Linked DNA regions of Homo sapiens: region 1 is linked to region 2. Evidence: promoter capture Hi-C in human tissues and cell types (Jung and others, 2019). All regions are on one chromosome and are shown on one strand. The core of a region is centred on a gene start or on the middle of the fragment in contact, and the rest is flanking DNA. Distances in the headings are between cores, read along the strand shown.

Region 1 (6,491 bases), core at 2,505-5,004, 180 kb after region 2:
AGGAGAATCACTTGAACCTGGGAGATGGAGGTTGCAGTGAACCAAGATCATGCCATTTGCACTCCAGCCTAGGCAATAAGAGTGAAACTCCATCTCAAAAAAAAAAAAAAGAAAAAAGTTATTGACGACTCCAAAGAGCTTTTGTTCATGTAGGTTATATCTATCAACATTTACCAGATTAGAAATTGAAAGTGAGAATATTTCAAAATATTTATTTATTTATTTAAAAATAGGCCAGGCATAGTGATTCACGCCTGCAATCCCAGTACTTTGGGAGCCCAAGCCTGGCGGATCACTTGAGGTCAGGAGTTCAAGACCAGCCTGGCCAACAGGGTGAAACTTTGTCTCTACTAAAAATACAAAAATTAGCCAGGCATAGTGGCAGGCACCTGTAGTTCCAGCTACTTGAGAGGCTGAAGCAGGAGAATTGCTTGAACCCGGGAGGCAAAGGTTGCAGTGAGCAGAGATTGTGACACTGCATTCCAGCCTGGGCAACAGAGCAAGACTCCATCTCAAAATAAATAAATAAATAAAATAAAATAGTAAGCTCATTACATGTAAATATTTTTGCGAAAAATAGCTAAATCTTCCAAGACAAAAATAATTGGTGAGCAACATGGCATTGTTTTACAGCTTTGCAAGTCTTTTTGTTGTTTGGCTTAAATAGAAAACATCTCAATTCTCATCTTTGCTTCTGCAGTCAATCTGTTGCAATTTATTGTTTTGGTTGAAGTTTATGAGAAGATTGGCCCTCACATAAATATGTACTTGGGGGAAAATGAGGGCTATTTTTATGGCCTTTCAGATAATTGTCTTCTTTAATACTACACCAAAACTCAACTTGTGATAGCTCAAGTGATAGTTTCGTAAAGGTTAGTTGCAATGTGGGATACGGCTTCAATATACATAGACTTTTCTTACTCTGTTACATTGAAATCCATTGATCTAGCTTGCTTTTTTTTTTTTTTTTTTTTTTTGAGATGGAGTCTTGCTCTGTCGCCCAGTCTGGAGTGCAGTGGTGCAATCTCGGCTCACTGCAAGCTCCGCCTCCCAGGTTCATGCCATTCTCCTGCCTCAGACTCCCGATTAGCTGAGACTACAGGCACCCGCCACCTAGCCCAGCTAATTTTTTTGTATTTTTAGTGGAGACGGGGTTTCACCGTGTTAGCCAGGATGGTCTCGATCTCCTGACCTCGTGATCCACCCACCTCGGCCTCCCAAAGTGCTGGGATTACAGGCGTGCTATCTTGCATTTTTAATAGATATTTCATCCATGTATGATTTGACAGTATCAAGCATTGATCCTGTGGAAGATATTGATTCACTAACTTAAGCACAGCTTCCAAACAGTGATATATTTCATTACACTGTTGAATGTTGAGAAATCTCATTAGTTGAAAAATCTCATTAGTTAATGTTACCAGTGATATTACCACTGATTTTATCAGAAAATTATTTTAGTACTGGGACGCTGTCAAAGCCATGGTGTAAAATTTCCGACATTTAAGTTTTTGCTCAAAAGCTCAAGTGTTATCATTGACAACAAATACTGTCAGTTGCTTTCCTTGAAGTGACCATCTCACTGCATTCATTTTGTTTTTCAGTAGTTAGGAGTTTTTTAATCTTTCTCAAATAACTTTTTTTTAAAAACATTTTTTATTTCCATAGGTTTTGGAGGGAACAGGTGTATCTGTTACATGAATAAGTTCTTTAGTGGTGATTTGTGAGATTTTGGTGCACCCATCACCCAAACAGTATACACTAAATCCAATTTGTAGTCTTTTATTCTTCACCCCCTTCCCACCCTTACCCTCCGAGTCTTCAAAGTCCATTGTATCATTCTTATGCCTTTGCATCCTCATAGCTTAGCTCCCACTTATGAGTGAGAATATACGATGTTTGATTTTCCATTCCTGAGTTACCTCACTTAGAATAATAGTCTCCAGCTGGGCGCGGTGGCTCATGCCTGTAGTCCCAGCACTTTGGGAGGCCGAGACGGGCGGATCACGAGTTCAGCAGATCGAGACCATCCTGGCTAACACGGCGAAACCCCGTCTCCACTAAAAATACAAAAAATTAGCCAGGCATGGTGGTGGGCGCCTGTAGTCCCAGCTACTCGGGAGGCTGAGGCAGGAGAATGGCGTGAACCCAGGAGGCGGAGCTTGCAGTGAGCAGAGATCGTGCCACTGCACTCCAGCCTGGGCGACAGAGCAAAACTCCATCTCAAAAAAAAAAAAAAAAAGAATAATAGTCCCCAATCTCATCCAGGTTGCTGTGAATGCCATTAATTCATTTCTTATTATGGCTGAGTGATATCCCATCATATATGTGTGTGTGTGTGTGTGTGTATATATATGTATATATATGTACGTGTGTGTATATATGTATATATATGTACGTGTGTATATATATGTATATATGTACGTGTGTATATATGTATATATGTACGTGTGTATATATATGTATATATATGTACGTGTGTATATATATGTGTGTATATATATACACACACATATACAGGTACACATGTATATATATATACATATATATACACACACACACACACACACCCCCCACAGTTTCTTTATTCACTCATTGATTGGTGGGCATTTGTCTGGTTCCACATTTTTGCAATTGCAAATTGTGCTGCTATAAACATCGCTGCATTCATTTTTAAGAAAATATCTGCCAAATACTAAAATCCGAAGAGTCATAATTTTTTTCTTTGGCAGTTGTTCTTTCAACTAAAATATGGCATTCCATAAAGAATGGCTAGTTTCACCTGCAACTCAAACAATTACACAAGTGCCTTTCCTAGAGATAACCACAGTACTTTGGTATGCAAAAGAATTGTTTTATACATACTTCCCATTCCATCACACAGAATAATAGAAAGTCGTGCTGAAGGGTGAAGACTTAATAAAAATGATAATTTTACTGTTTCATTGAGGATATTCTTCTTAGATAAAACAAACTTTTTTTTTTTTTTTTTTTGAGACGGAGTCTCACTCTATCACCCAGACTGGAGTGCAGTGGCACAATCTCAGAGGCATAATCTCAGCTGACTGCAACTTCTGCCTCCCAGGCTCAAGTGATTCTTATGCCTCAGCCTCCCAAGTAGCTGGGATTACAGGCATCCACCGCCACATGCGGCTAATTTTTGTATTTTTAATGGAGACAGGGTTTTGCCATATTGGCCAGGCTGGTCTCGAACCCTGACCTCAAGGGATCTACCTGCCTTGGCCTCCCAAAGTGCTGGCATGTGAGCCACCGAGCCCACCCAAAACTCAATTTCATTTGAAACAACAGAAAGCTTTTTGCACGTCTACAGTGTGCACATTTGATGCCTAAAACAGAGACTGTCAAAGAATCTTGAAATGTCTAGGTAGGAAGTTTAGGCCAAGAAGTCAACTAGTGTATCCCTCTGACCATGTTATTTTGTGGGTTTTTTGTTTGTTTGTTTGCGAGACAGAGTCTTGTGCAGTGGTGAAATCTCGGCTCTCTGAAATCTCCACCTCCCAGGTTCAAGTGATTCTCCTGCCTCAGCCCCCTGAGTCACTGAAATTACAGGCACATGCCACCACACCCGGCTAATTTTTGTATTTTTAGTAGAGACGAGGTTTCATTATGTTGGCCAGGTTGGTCTCAAACTCCTAATCTCAAGTGACCCACCCACCTTGGCCTCCCAAAGTGTTGGGATTACAAGTATGAGCCACCGCACCCGGCCCCACTCAATATTGCTCTTGCACCATCATTCAAAATGTCAGGCAGGGTGTGTTGGCTCACACCTGTAATCCCAGCACTTTGGGAGGCCGAGGCGGGCAGATCATGAGGTCAGGAGATGGAGACCATCCTGGCTAACATGGTGAAACCCTGTCTCTTCTAAAAATACAAAAAAAAAAAAAAAAAAAAAAAATTAGCTGGGTGTGGTGGTGCAAGCCTATAATCCCAGCTACTTGGGAGCCTGAGGCAAGAGAATCCGCGCCACTGCACTCCAGCCTGGGTGACAGAGTGAGACTTGGTGTCAAAAAAAAAAAAAGTCAACAAAATAAAAAGAGCAAATCTTATGTTAGCATTGTTACAAAAATGATTTTGACCTCTTGGACTTCTTGAGAGGATTTGGAGACCACACTTTGAGAAATGATGCCCTACAGGCACCAAACTTCTTGGTGTGGCCCAGATAGCTCTCCATGACCTGCCCCTGCCAACCTCTCCAGCCCCGTCTCTCATACCATTCCATCTCTAATCAAGCCCATGCTTCAGCTGGGAAGAATAGACTCATTCTGCAGAGAAAGAGACCTGGCTCTAGAACCAAAACCAAGCTGCCTAGTTGCTCAAGAAGTGATATTCTTTTTTTTTTTTTTTTTTTGAGATGGAGTTTTGTTCTTGTCACCCAGGCTGGAGTGCAATGGCATGATCTCGGCTCACTGCAACCTCTGCCTCCTGGGTTCAAGTGATTCTCCTGCCTCAGCCTCCCGAGTAGCTGTGATTACAGGCATGAGCCACCACACCCAGCTAATTTTTGTATTTTTAGTAGAGAAGGGGTTTCACCATGTTGGCCAGGTTAGTCTCAAACTCCTGACCTCAGGTGATCCACCCACCTTGGCCTCCCAAAGTGCTGGGATTATAGGAATGAGGCACTGCTTCCAGCCAAGAAGTGGCATTCTTTCATGCTTCCAACCTCTGGGTGATATGATTTGGATCTGTGTCCCCACCCAAATCTCATCTTGTAGCTCCCATAATTCCCATGTGTTGTGGGAGGAACCCAGTGGAAGATGATTGAATCATGGGAGTGGGTCTTTCCTGTGCTGTTCTTGTGATAGTGAATGGGTCTTACGAGATCTGATTGTTTTAAAAAACAGGAGTTTCTCTGCATAAGCTCTTTTTTTGCCTGCTGCCACTCATGTAAGACGTGACTTGCTCCTCCTTGCCTTCCACCATGATTGTGAGGCTTCCCCAGCCAACCAGAACTGTAAGTCATTAAACCTCTTTCTTTTGTAAATTGCCCAGTCTCCAGTATGTCTTTATCAGCAGCATGAAAATGGACTAATACACTGGGCCTTTGCTTGAGCTGCTCACCCTGCCCAGAAGCCCCCTTCCCTTCTGGTGAGCTCCTATTCAGTCATCAAGGTCTAGTTCAAATATCATTTCCCCTGTGAAGCCTCCCCTTTCCCTTCAGTATACACTTACACTATTTTGTACAACTTTCATTTATAAAACTTAATACATTATAGAGTTCTGTGGTCTGAATGTATTCCCCCAAAATGCATATATTGAGACTTAGTCACCAGTGTGATGGTAAGAAGAGGTGGGGCCTTTAGGAGGTGATTAAGTCATAAGGTCAGAGCTCTCATGAATGGGATTAGTAACCTTATAAAAAAGGTTCAAGCCTGGGTGCAGTGGCTCACGCCTGTAATCCTAACAGTTTGGGAGGCTAAGTGGGGAGGATCACTTGAGCTCAGGAGTTTGAGACCAGCCTGGGCAACATAATGAGACCCTGTCTCTTAAAAAAAAAATAATTTAATAAAAAATTTTTAAACTTAATTTTTTCTTTTTTTTAATTCAAGAGAGCTGTCTTCCCCTTCCCCCACGTGAGGATGTAGCCACAAGGTACCATCTACGGAGCACAGAACAAGCCCTTAGCAGACACCGAATCTGCCAGTGCCTTGAGCTTGGACTTCCCAGACTACAGAACTATGAGAAATGAGTTTCTATTACTTATAAATTATGCAGTCTAAGGAATTGTGTGATAGCAGCCAGAGAGACTAAGACATTCTGGTTCACAGGACCTTATCAACAACTCAGACATCCCCAAACTGAAAACTGGACCTTATTTATTAACGTACTCAGTTCTTAAACTTGTCCTGAATGGATGTGAGGTTATTTATCATCTTTAAAAAAAAAATCTTATTTAGTGTGAATATCCATACATTTCACTGCAGCAATATTGTGTTTGATACTGAGGTGTTGCTGCAGGCCCCACTGGAGTACCATGAGAATCATGGCCCATATTACCTTTCTAAAATCTAATAAATCCTGAAATCTAAAACCTATATGACTCCCAAGGATTTGGGTGAGGGATTGTGGGCTTGTATTATGTTTCCTTGAGTATGTCCGCCTCTTCTGCTTAGCTGATATCTGTTAGGAGGGTACCATGCCCTAAACACGTCTGTATCCCAGATTCCAGCAGAGTGCCTGGTATGTGGTCGCATGAAGCAAAGTCTGTAGTGGCACACGTTGAGCTTATGAATTCCCATAACTCTATGGAGAAGTCCCACACCAAATTTTAAGGAGCAGATCGGATTTCAGAATTGCAGGGTAGAGTTCAGGTTACAACGACAGATTGCACATATGCGTCTAATTTTGCTCCCTCCTGAAACCTCACTGAAACTTCTGGAAGAGGAATACTTTTTTAAAAAGAGACATAAACCCACAATGTTGAGAAAAGCAGGATGGGAAAGCACGGCCACAAGAGGGGAGGGACGGGGGGT
Region 2 (6,206 bases), core at 2,676-5,175:
GCTATACCCAGAAGAGCAATAACAATCACTGCAGTCTGGCTCTCAGGAAGCCCTATTCCTAGGAGAAGGAGAGTACCACATCAAGGAATAACCCGTGGGACAAAAGAACCTGAACAGAAGGAGTTGAGTTTCAGATCTTTCCACTGAAATAGTCTACCCAAATGAGAAGGAACCGGAAAAGTAATTCTGGTAATATGACAAAACATATTTCTATAACACCCCCCAAAGCTATTGCTAGCTCCCCAGCAATAGATACAAGCCAACAAAAAATCTCTGAATTGCCATATAAAGAATTTAGAAGGTTGATTATTAAGCTATTCAAGGAGATAGCAGAGGAAGGTGAAAACCAACTTAAAGAAATTTTAAAAAATACAGAATATGGATGAAAATTCTCCAGAGAAATAGATATCACAAAGAAAAAACAATCACAGCTTCTGGAAATGAAAGACACACTGAAAGAAATACAAAAGGCACTGGAAAGTTTCAACAATAGACTAGAACAAGTAGAAGAAAGAACTTCAGAGCTTGAAGACACAGCTTTCAAATTAACCCAATCAGACAAAGACAAAGAAAAAAGAATTTTAAAAAATGAGCAAAGCCTCCAAGAAATTTGAGATTATGTTAAATGGCCAAATTTAAGAATAATTGGTGTTGCTGAGGATGAAGAGAAATCTAAAAGTTTGGAAAACTTATTTGAGGGAATAATTGAGGAAAACTTCCTTGGCCTTGCTAGAGATCTAGATATCCAGATACAAGAAGTTCAAAGAACATCTGGGAAATTCATCACAAAATGATCCTCACCTAGGCACATGTCATCAGGGTATCTAAAGTCAAGAAGAAGGAAATAATCTTAAGAGCTGTGAGACAAAAGCATAAGGTAACCTGTAAAGGAAAATCTATGAGATTAACAGCTAATTTATCAGCAGAAACCATACAAGCCAGAAGGGACTGGAGTCCTGTTGTTAGCCTCCTTAAACAAAATAATTGTTAGTCAAGAATTTTGTATCCAGCAAAACCAAGCTTCATAAATGAAGGAGAGATAAAGTCTTTTTCAGACAAACAAATGCTGAAAGAATTCGCCACTACCAAGCCAGTACTACAAGAAATGCTAAACGGAGTTCTAAGTCTTGAAACAAAACCTCGAAATACACCAAAATAGAACCTCCTTACAGCATATTGTTTTATAAGCCTTAGGGCCTATAAAACAATAACACAATGAAAAAAATAAGGTATTTAGGCAACAACTTGCCTGATGAATAGAACAGCACTTTATATCTCAATACTAACATTGAATGAAAATGGGCTAAATGGTTCACTTAAAAGGTACAAGGGCTGGGTGCAGTGGCTCACATCTGTAATCCCAGCACCTTGGGAGGCTAAGGCAGGCAGATCACGAGGTCAGGAGATCGAGACCATCCTGGCTAACACAGTGAAACCCCATCTCTACTAAAATACAAAAAAAAAAAAAAAAAAAAATTAGCCAGGTGTGGTGGTGGGCGCCTGTAGTCCCAGCTACTCGGGAGGCTGAGGCAGGAGAATAGCATGAACCCAGGAGGTGGAGCTTGCAGCGAGCCAAGATCGCACCACTGCACTCCAGCTTGGGTGACAGAGAGAGACTCCATCTCAAAAAAAAAAAAAAAAAAAAAAAAAAAAGGTACATAATGGCAGAATGGTACCGGTATAAAAATAGGCACATAGATCAAGGGAACAGAATAGAGAACCCAGAAATAAAGCCAAATACTTTCAGCTAACTAGTCTTTGACAAAGCAAAGAAAAACGTATAGTGCGGAAAGGACACCCTATTCAACAAATGGTGCCAGGATAATTGGCAAGCCACATGTAGAAGAATGAAACAGTATCCTCATACAAAAATCAACTCAAGATGGATCAAAGACTTAAATCTAAAACCTGAAACCATAAAAATTCTAGAAGATAACATCGGAAAAACTCCTCCAGACATTGGCTTAGGCAAAGAATTCAGGACCAAGAACCCAAAAATAAATGCAACGAAAACAAAAATAAAGAGATGGGACCTAATTAAAGTAAAAAGCTTCTGCACAGCAAAATAAATAATCAGCAGAGAAAACAGACAACCCTCAAAGTGGGAGAAAATATTTGCAAACTGTGCATTTGACAAAGGACTAATATCCAGTTTCTACAAGGAACTCAAACAAATCAGCAAGAAAAAAAAAATAATCCCATCAAAAAGTGGGCAAAGGACATGAATAGACAATTCTCAAAAGAAGATATACAAAATGAAATGGCCAAAAAAATATGAAAATGTGCTCAACGTCACTAATTATCAGAGAAATGCAAATTAAAACTGCAATAAGTTGCCACCTTACTCCTGCAAGAATGGCCATAATTTAAAAATCAAAGAAGAATAGAAGGGTGCAGTGGCTCACACCTGTAATCCCAGCACTTTGGGAGGCCAAAGCAGGTGGATCACTTGAGGTCAGGAGTTCAAGACCAGCCTAGCTAAAATGGTGTGAATATGGTGACAAGGGAAAACTTTTACACTGGTGGTGGGAATGTAAACTAGTACAACCACTATGGAAAACAGTATGGCAACTCCTTAAAAAACTAAAAGTAGAATACCATTTGATCCAGTAATCCCACTACCGGGTATCTACCCAGAGGAGAAAAGTTATTATATAAAAAAGATACTCGCACATGCATGTTTATAGCTGCATAATTTGCAACCGAAAAAATATGGAACCAACCTAAATGCTCATCAGCCAACAAGTGGATGAAGAAAATGTGTGTGTATATACACACACACACACACACACACACACCCCTATATATGTATATGCCATGGAATATTACTCAGCTGTAAAAAGGAAGGGAATAATGGCATCCGTAACAATCTGGATGAAGTTGGACACCATTATTCTGAGTGAAGTAACTCAGGAATGGAAAACCAAATATTGTATGTTCTCATTTATTAGTAGGAGCTAAGCTATGAAGACACAAAGTCACAAGAAGGATACAATGGGCTGGGCGCCGTGGCTCACACCTGTAATCCCAGCACTTTGGGAGGCCAAGGCAGGTGGATCACTTGAGGTCAGGAGTTCAAGACCAGCCTGGCCAAGATGGTGAAACCCCATCTCTACTAAAATTACAAAAAATTAGCTGGGTGTAGTGGCAGGCACCTGTAATCCCAGCTACTCGGAAGCTGAGATGGGAGGATGGCTTGATTGTGCCACTTGAAGTAGCTATGATTGTGCCACTGCTCTCCAGCCTGGGCTACAGAGCAAGACTCTATATCAAAAACATAACAGAAAACATAACCTCAGAAGCATTACAATAAATATGCAATAAGCATCCACCCAGCATGTGTGGGGGACTGTGCTGATGCTGATGGCATGTGTGGGAGTAAGGCAGGCATCTGAGGAATGTGGGGGAACGGAAGGACGGGGAGTAATCTGGAGAGCCCCACGGTCAGTCAGTGGCAGGTCTTTCTTGAGCTCAGAAAGGTTAGGTAACTAGTTCAGATCAGACAGTAAAACAGGGGCAGAGCCTGGAATTGCACTGAGGCTTGAGTCTGACTTCTCTCCCCCACCTGCTGTGCCCTTAAACTGCAGAGATCGGGGCGGGGGTTGGGGGGCAAGCGGCTCAGATGGGTTCAAAAAACTCCCCAGGCTCAACTCTGGTTCTGACTGCCTGAGACATGGGCAGCTGACACAGCAGACCTTGAATCCTGAGGATGTGAGGCAGGTGGGTTGGATGAGAGGGACCCGGATGTCTGGTCTGCGGCTGCTCCTCTAAGTGCAGCAGCAAGGAGGCTGGGCCTGGACTGCAGGTGGTGCTGGGGAGCAGCGTGTTTACTGTGCTTGGTCATGAGCTGCTGGGAAGTTGTGACTTTCACTTTCCCTTTCGAATTCCAGGGTATATCTGGGAGGCCGGAGGACGTGTCTGGTTATTACACAGATGCACAGCTGGACGTGGGATCCACACAGCTCAGAACAGTTGGATCTTGCTCAGTCTCTGTCAGAGGAAGATCCCTTGGTAAGTTGGGGATAGTGTGATCTACCCCCATGTCCTTATTCTTGCAATAGCTCTATAAGGGAAGGATCATTCAGCTTTTGTAGATAAGCTCAGAGAGGTTAGGTAGCTGGTTCAGATCAGACAGGAAAGCAGTGGCAGAGCCGGGATTTGCACCCAGGCTTGAGTCTGATTGCTCCCTCCCTCCTGCTGGGCGGGTAAACTGTAGAGAGAGGTGGGGAAAACAGCTTAGATGGGTTCACAAAGCTCCCCGGGCTCAGCTCTGGTTCTGACACCCTCAGACACGGCCAGCTGACCCCAGAAGAAAGGTAGGTGTTGGGGGTGCCCATCTCTTTGGGAAATTTGAAGGAATCAAAGAAGGTGGAGGAGGGGAGGTGACCTGGAGCCCGGCATGTCCTTGTGGCCGGGCCACACCCAGGCTGGCCCCAGGGTGCTGCTGCTGAAGCCCAATGGGAACAACAGATTTCTTTTGAGACACAAGGAACTCAGAGGTTGTCTCACTCACCCTGAGTCTGAGCACCTACTTGTGCCAGGCCCTGTGGGGAAACTGAGGCCCTGGGAGGGGAATGACTTGCCAGGGTCCCGTGTCAGGAGGCTGAGCAGGCAGATCATAGGACTTCACGTCTCTGGCCCTCACCTCTGTCCCTCTGTTCAGACCTCTGAGCTGATAGAGAAGAAACAGGCTGTGCTGTGTCCCTAATGGGAAACATGGCTGAGACAGGGGAGTGAGAAGGTCGCATTGCAGAATGGTACCTGTGGCATGATGCCAGCTTTGCAATCATGAGATTCAAAAGCCACACTGTGGAATTGTGAGTATAACTACAGGAGTGAGAGCTTAGGTCTCTGTGTTTGTAGAAGCAGAATCAAACCTGGACACTGTTGGATTATTAAAATCACCCATTTTTGCTTCAATATCAGAGTCACAAGGGCAGATGTTGGCCTCCCCTCTGCCCTCCAAGAGCTGTGTGACTCTGGGCAAGTCACCTCCCCTCCCAGCCTAAGATTTTTCCCCTCTAAAAAACTTGATAGAGCTGCCAAAAGTCCATGAAATCAGGGGGGTAATTTCTGTGAAATATGAGTCATGGTCTTATTTGTTCTTCACCAAAAAGAGATGCCCATCAAGATAGAAAGAAAAATTAAATTCAATTTCTCAACTGAAAGTGAAACTGAAGCTGGGCCATGTCATCCAGAGGCTGGTTGCTTTTAGTTCAAGTAATGCCTCCTGCACCTGGGATTTCAGCCAGGCTGTGCCAGGGAGGGCGGAGGGCATCCAGGTCAGTCGTAGGGGGTGCAGCTGGGAACACAACAGTGTCCCCATTGAATGTTCAGAGTCTAAAGGGGAGACAGAGGCCCAAAGAGCCACATACAGGTAGAGCTCCCTCTGGAAAGCAGAGTGCTCAGGGAGCCTGGGGAGGGTTGGGGGCCGCCGCATGGACCAGGCAGCTTTGGGTGGGTCTCTGAGGACAGGTGACTTGCACATGGTGGGGACAGTGGGGGGGACATTCCAGGGCGAGGGAGCAGCTGAGTGAAGGCCTGAGGCTGGGGATGGGAGTGGGAGGAGTAGATGGGCTCCAGGAGGCACCGAAGCAGGGCGTCAGTGGGTGCCTGGACCTAAGGTGACTGTGGTGGCAGGGAGCGGTGAGGAAGGTGGGGTCCAGAGCATCAGAGGGCCTGTGTGCCCTGCTATGGGGTTTGAACTTGACCGTGGCTTTTCACTGAAGATTCCTCAGAAGGGTGCAGTGCCACGGCTGAGGCCTGTAATTCAGTGCTGTGGGAGGCAGAGGCGGGAGAATCACATGATGCTAGGAGCTCAAGACAGCTTGGGCAACACAGGAGATGCTGTCTCTCTGAAATGAAAAATTAACAAATTAGTCCTGCATGGTGCCGTGTGCCTGTAGTCCCAGCTACCTGGAAGGCTGAGGCAGAAGGATCACTTGAGCCCAGGGGCTCTAGGCTACAGCAAGCTGTGATAGCCCCAAAGCACTCCAGACTGGGTGACAGAGCAAGACAGTTTCTCAAAAATAAAATGAAAATGACGATTTCTCAGGAAATCATTTCGACTCCTCTTTCCCTGCCCAAGGAGGATGCCCCACAACCACTTGGAGGGAGATGCTTTGCTGAGAGTCCCTGTCCTCTGCATCTGGAGAGCTTGGCTCAGAGCTGAGGTGGGAGGGAGGGCTCCTCTTCCAGGTCGCTCA

The links. Contacts are between HindIII fragments. The study calls those that stand out against the background at their distance.
Region 1: a fragment that was not itself captured here is called in contact with the fragment with the promoter of APOL2 in region 2 in 1 of the 25 tissues and cell types used here (mesendoderm cells).

What each region holds. Positions count from the first base shown.
Region 1 is chr22:36,055,968-36,062,458 of GRCh38, reverse strand. No RefSeq gene overlaps it. Among named protein-coding and RNA genes, the nearest start is that of RBFOX2, 30 kb to the right of the region's middle. The HindIII fragment of the contact is 5,087 bases long and covers 1,211-6,297 here.
Region 2 is chr22:36,237,246-36,243,451 of GRCh38, reverse strand. APOL2 (apolipoprotein L2) reads left to right here and starts at 3,925. Exons shown (of 5, transcript NM_030882.4): 1 at 3,925-4,011. RefSeq lists enhancers at 3,637-3,686, 3,697-3,946, 4,484-4,998. The HindIII fragment of the contact is 12,319 bases long and covers 1,536-6,206 here.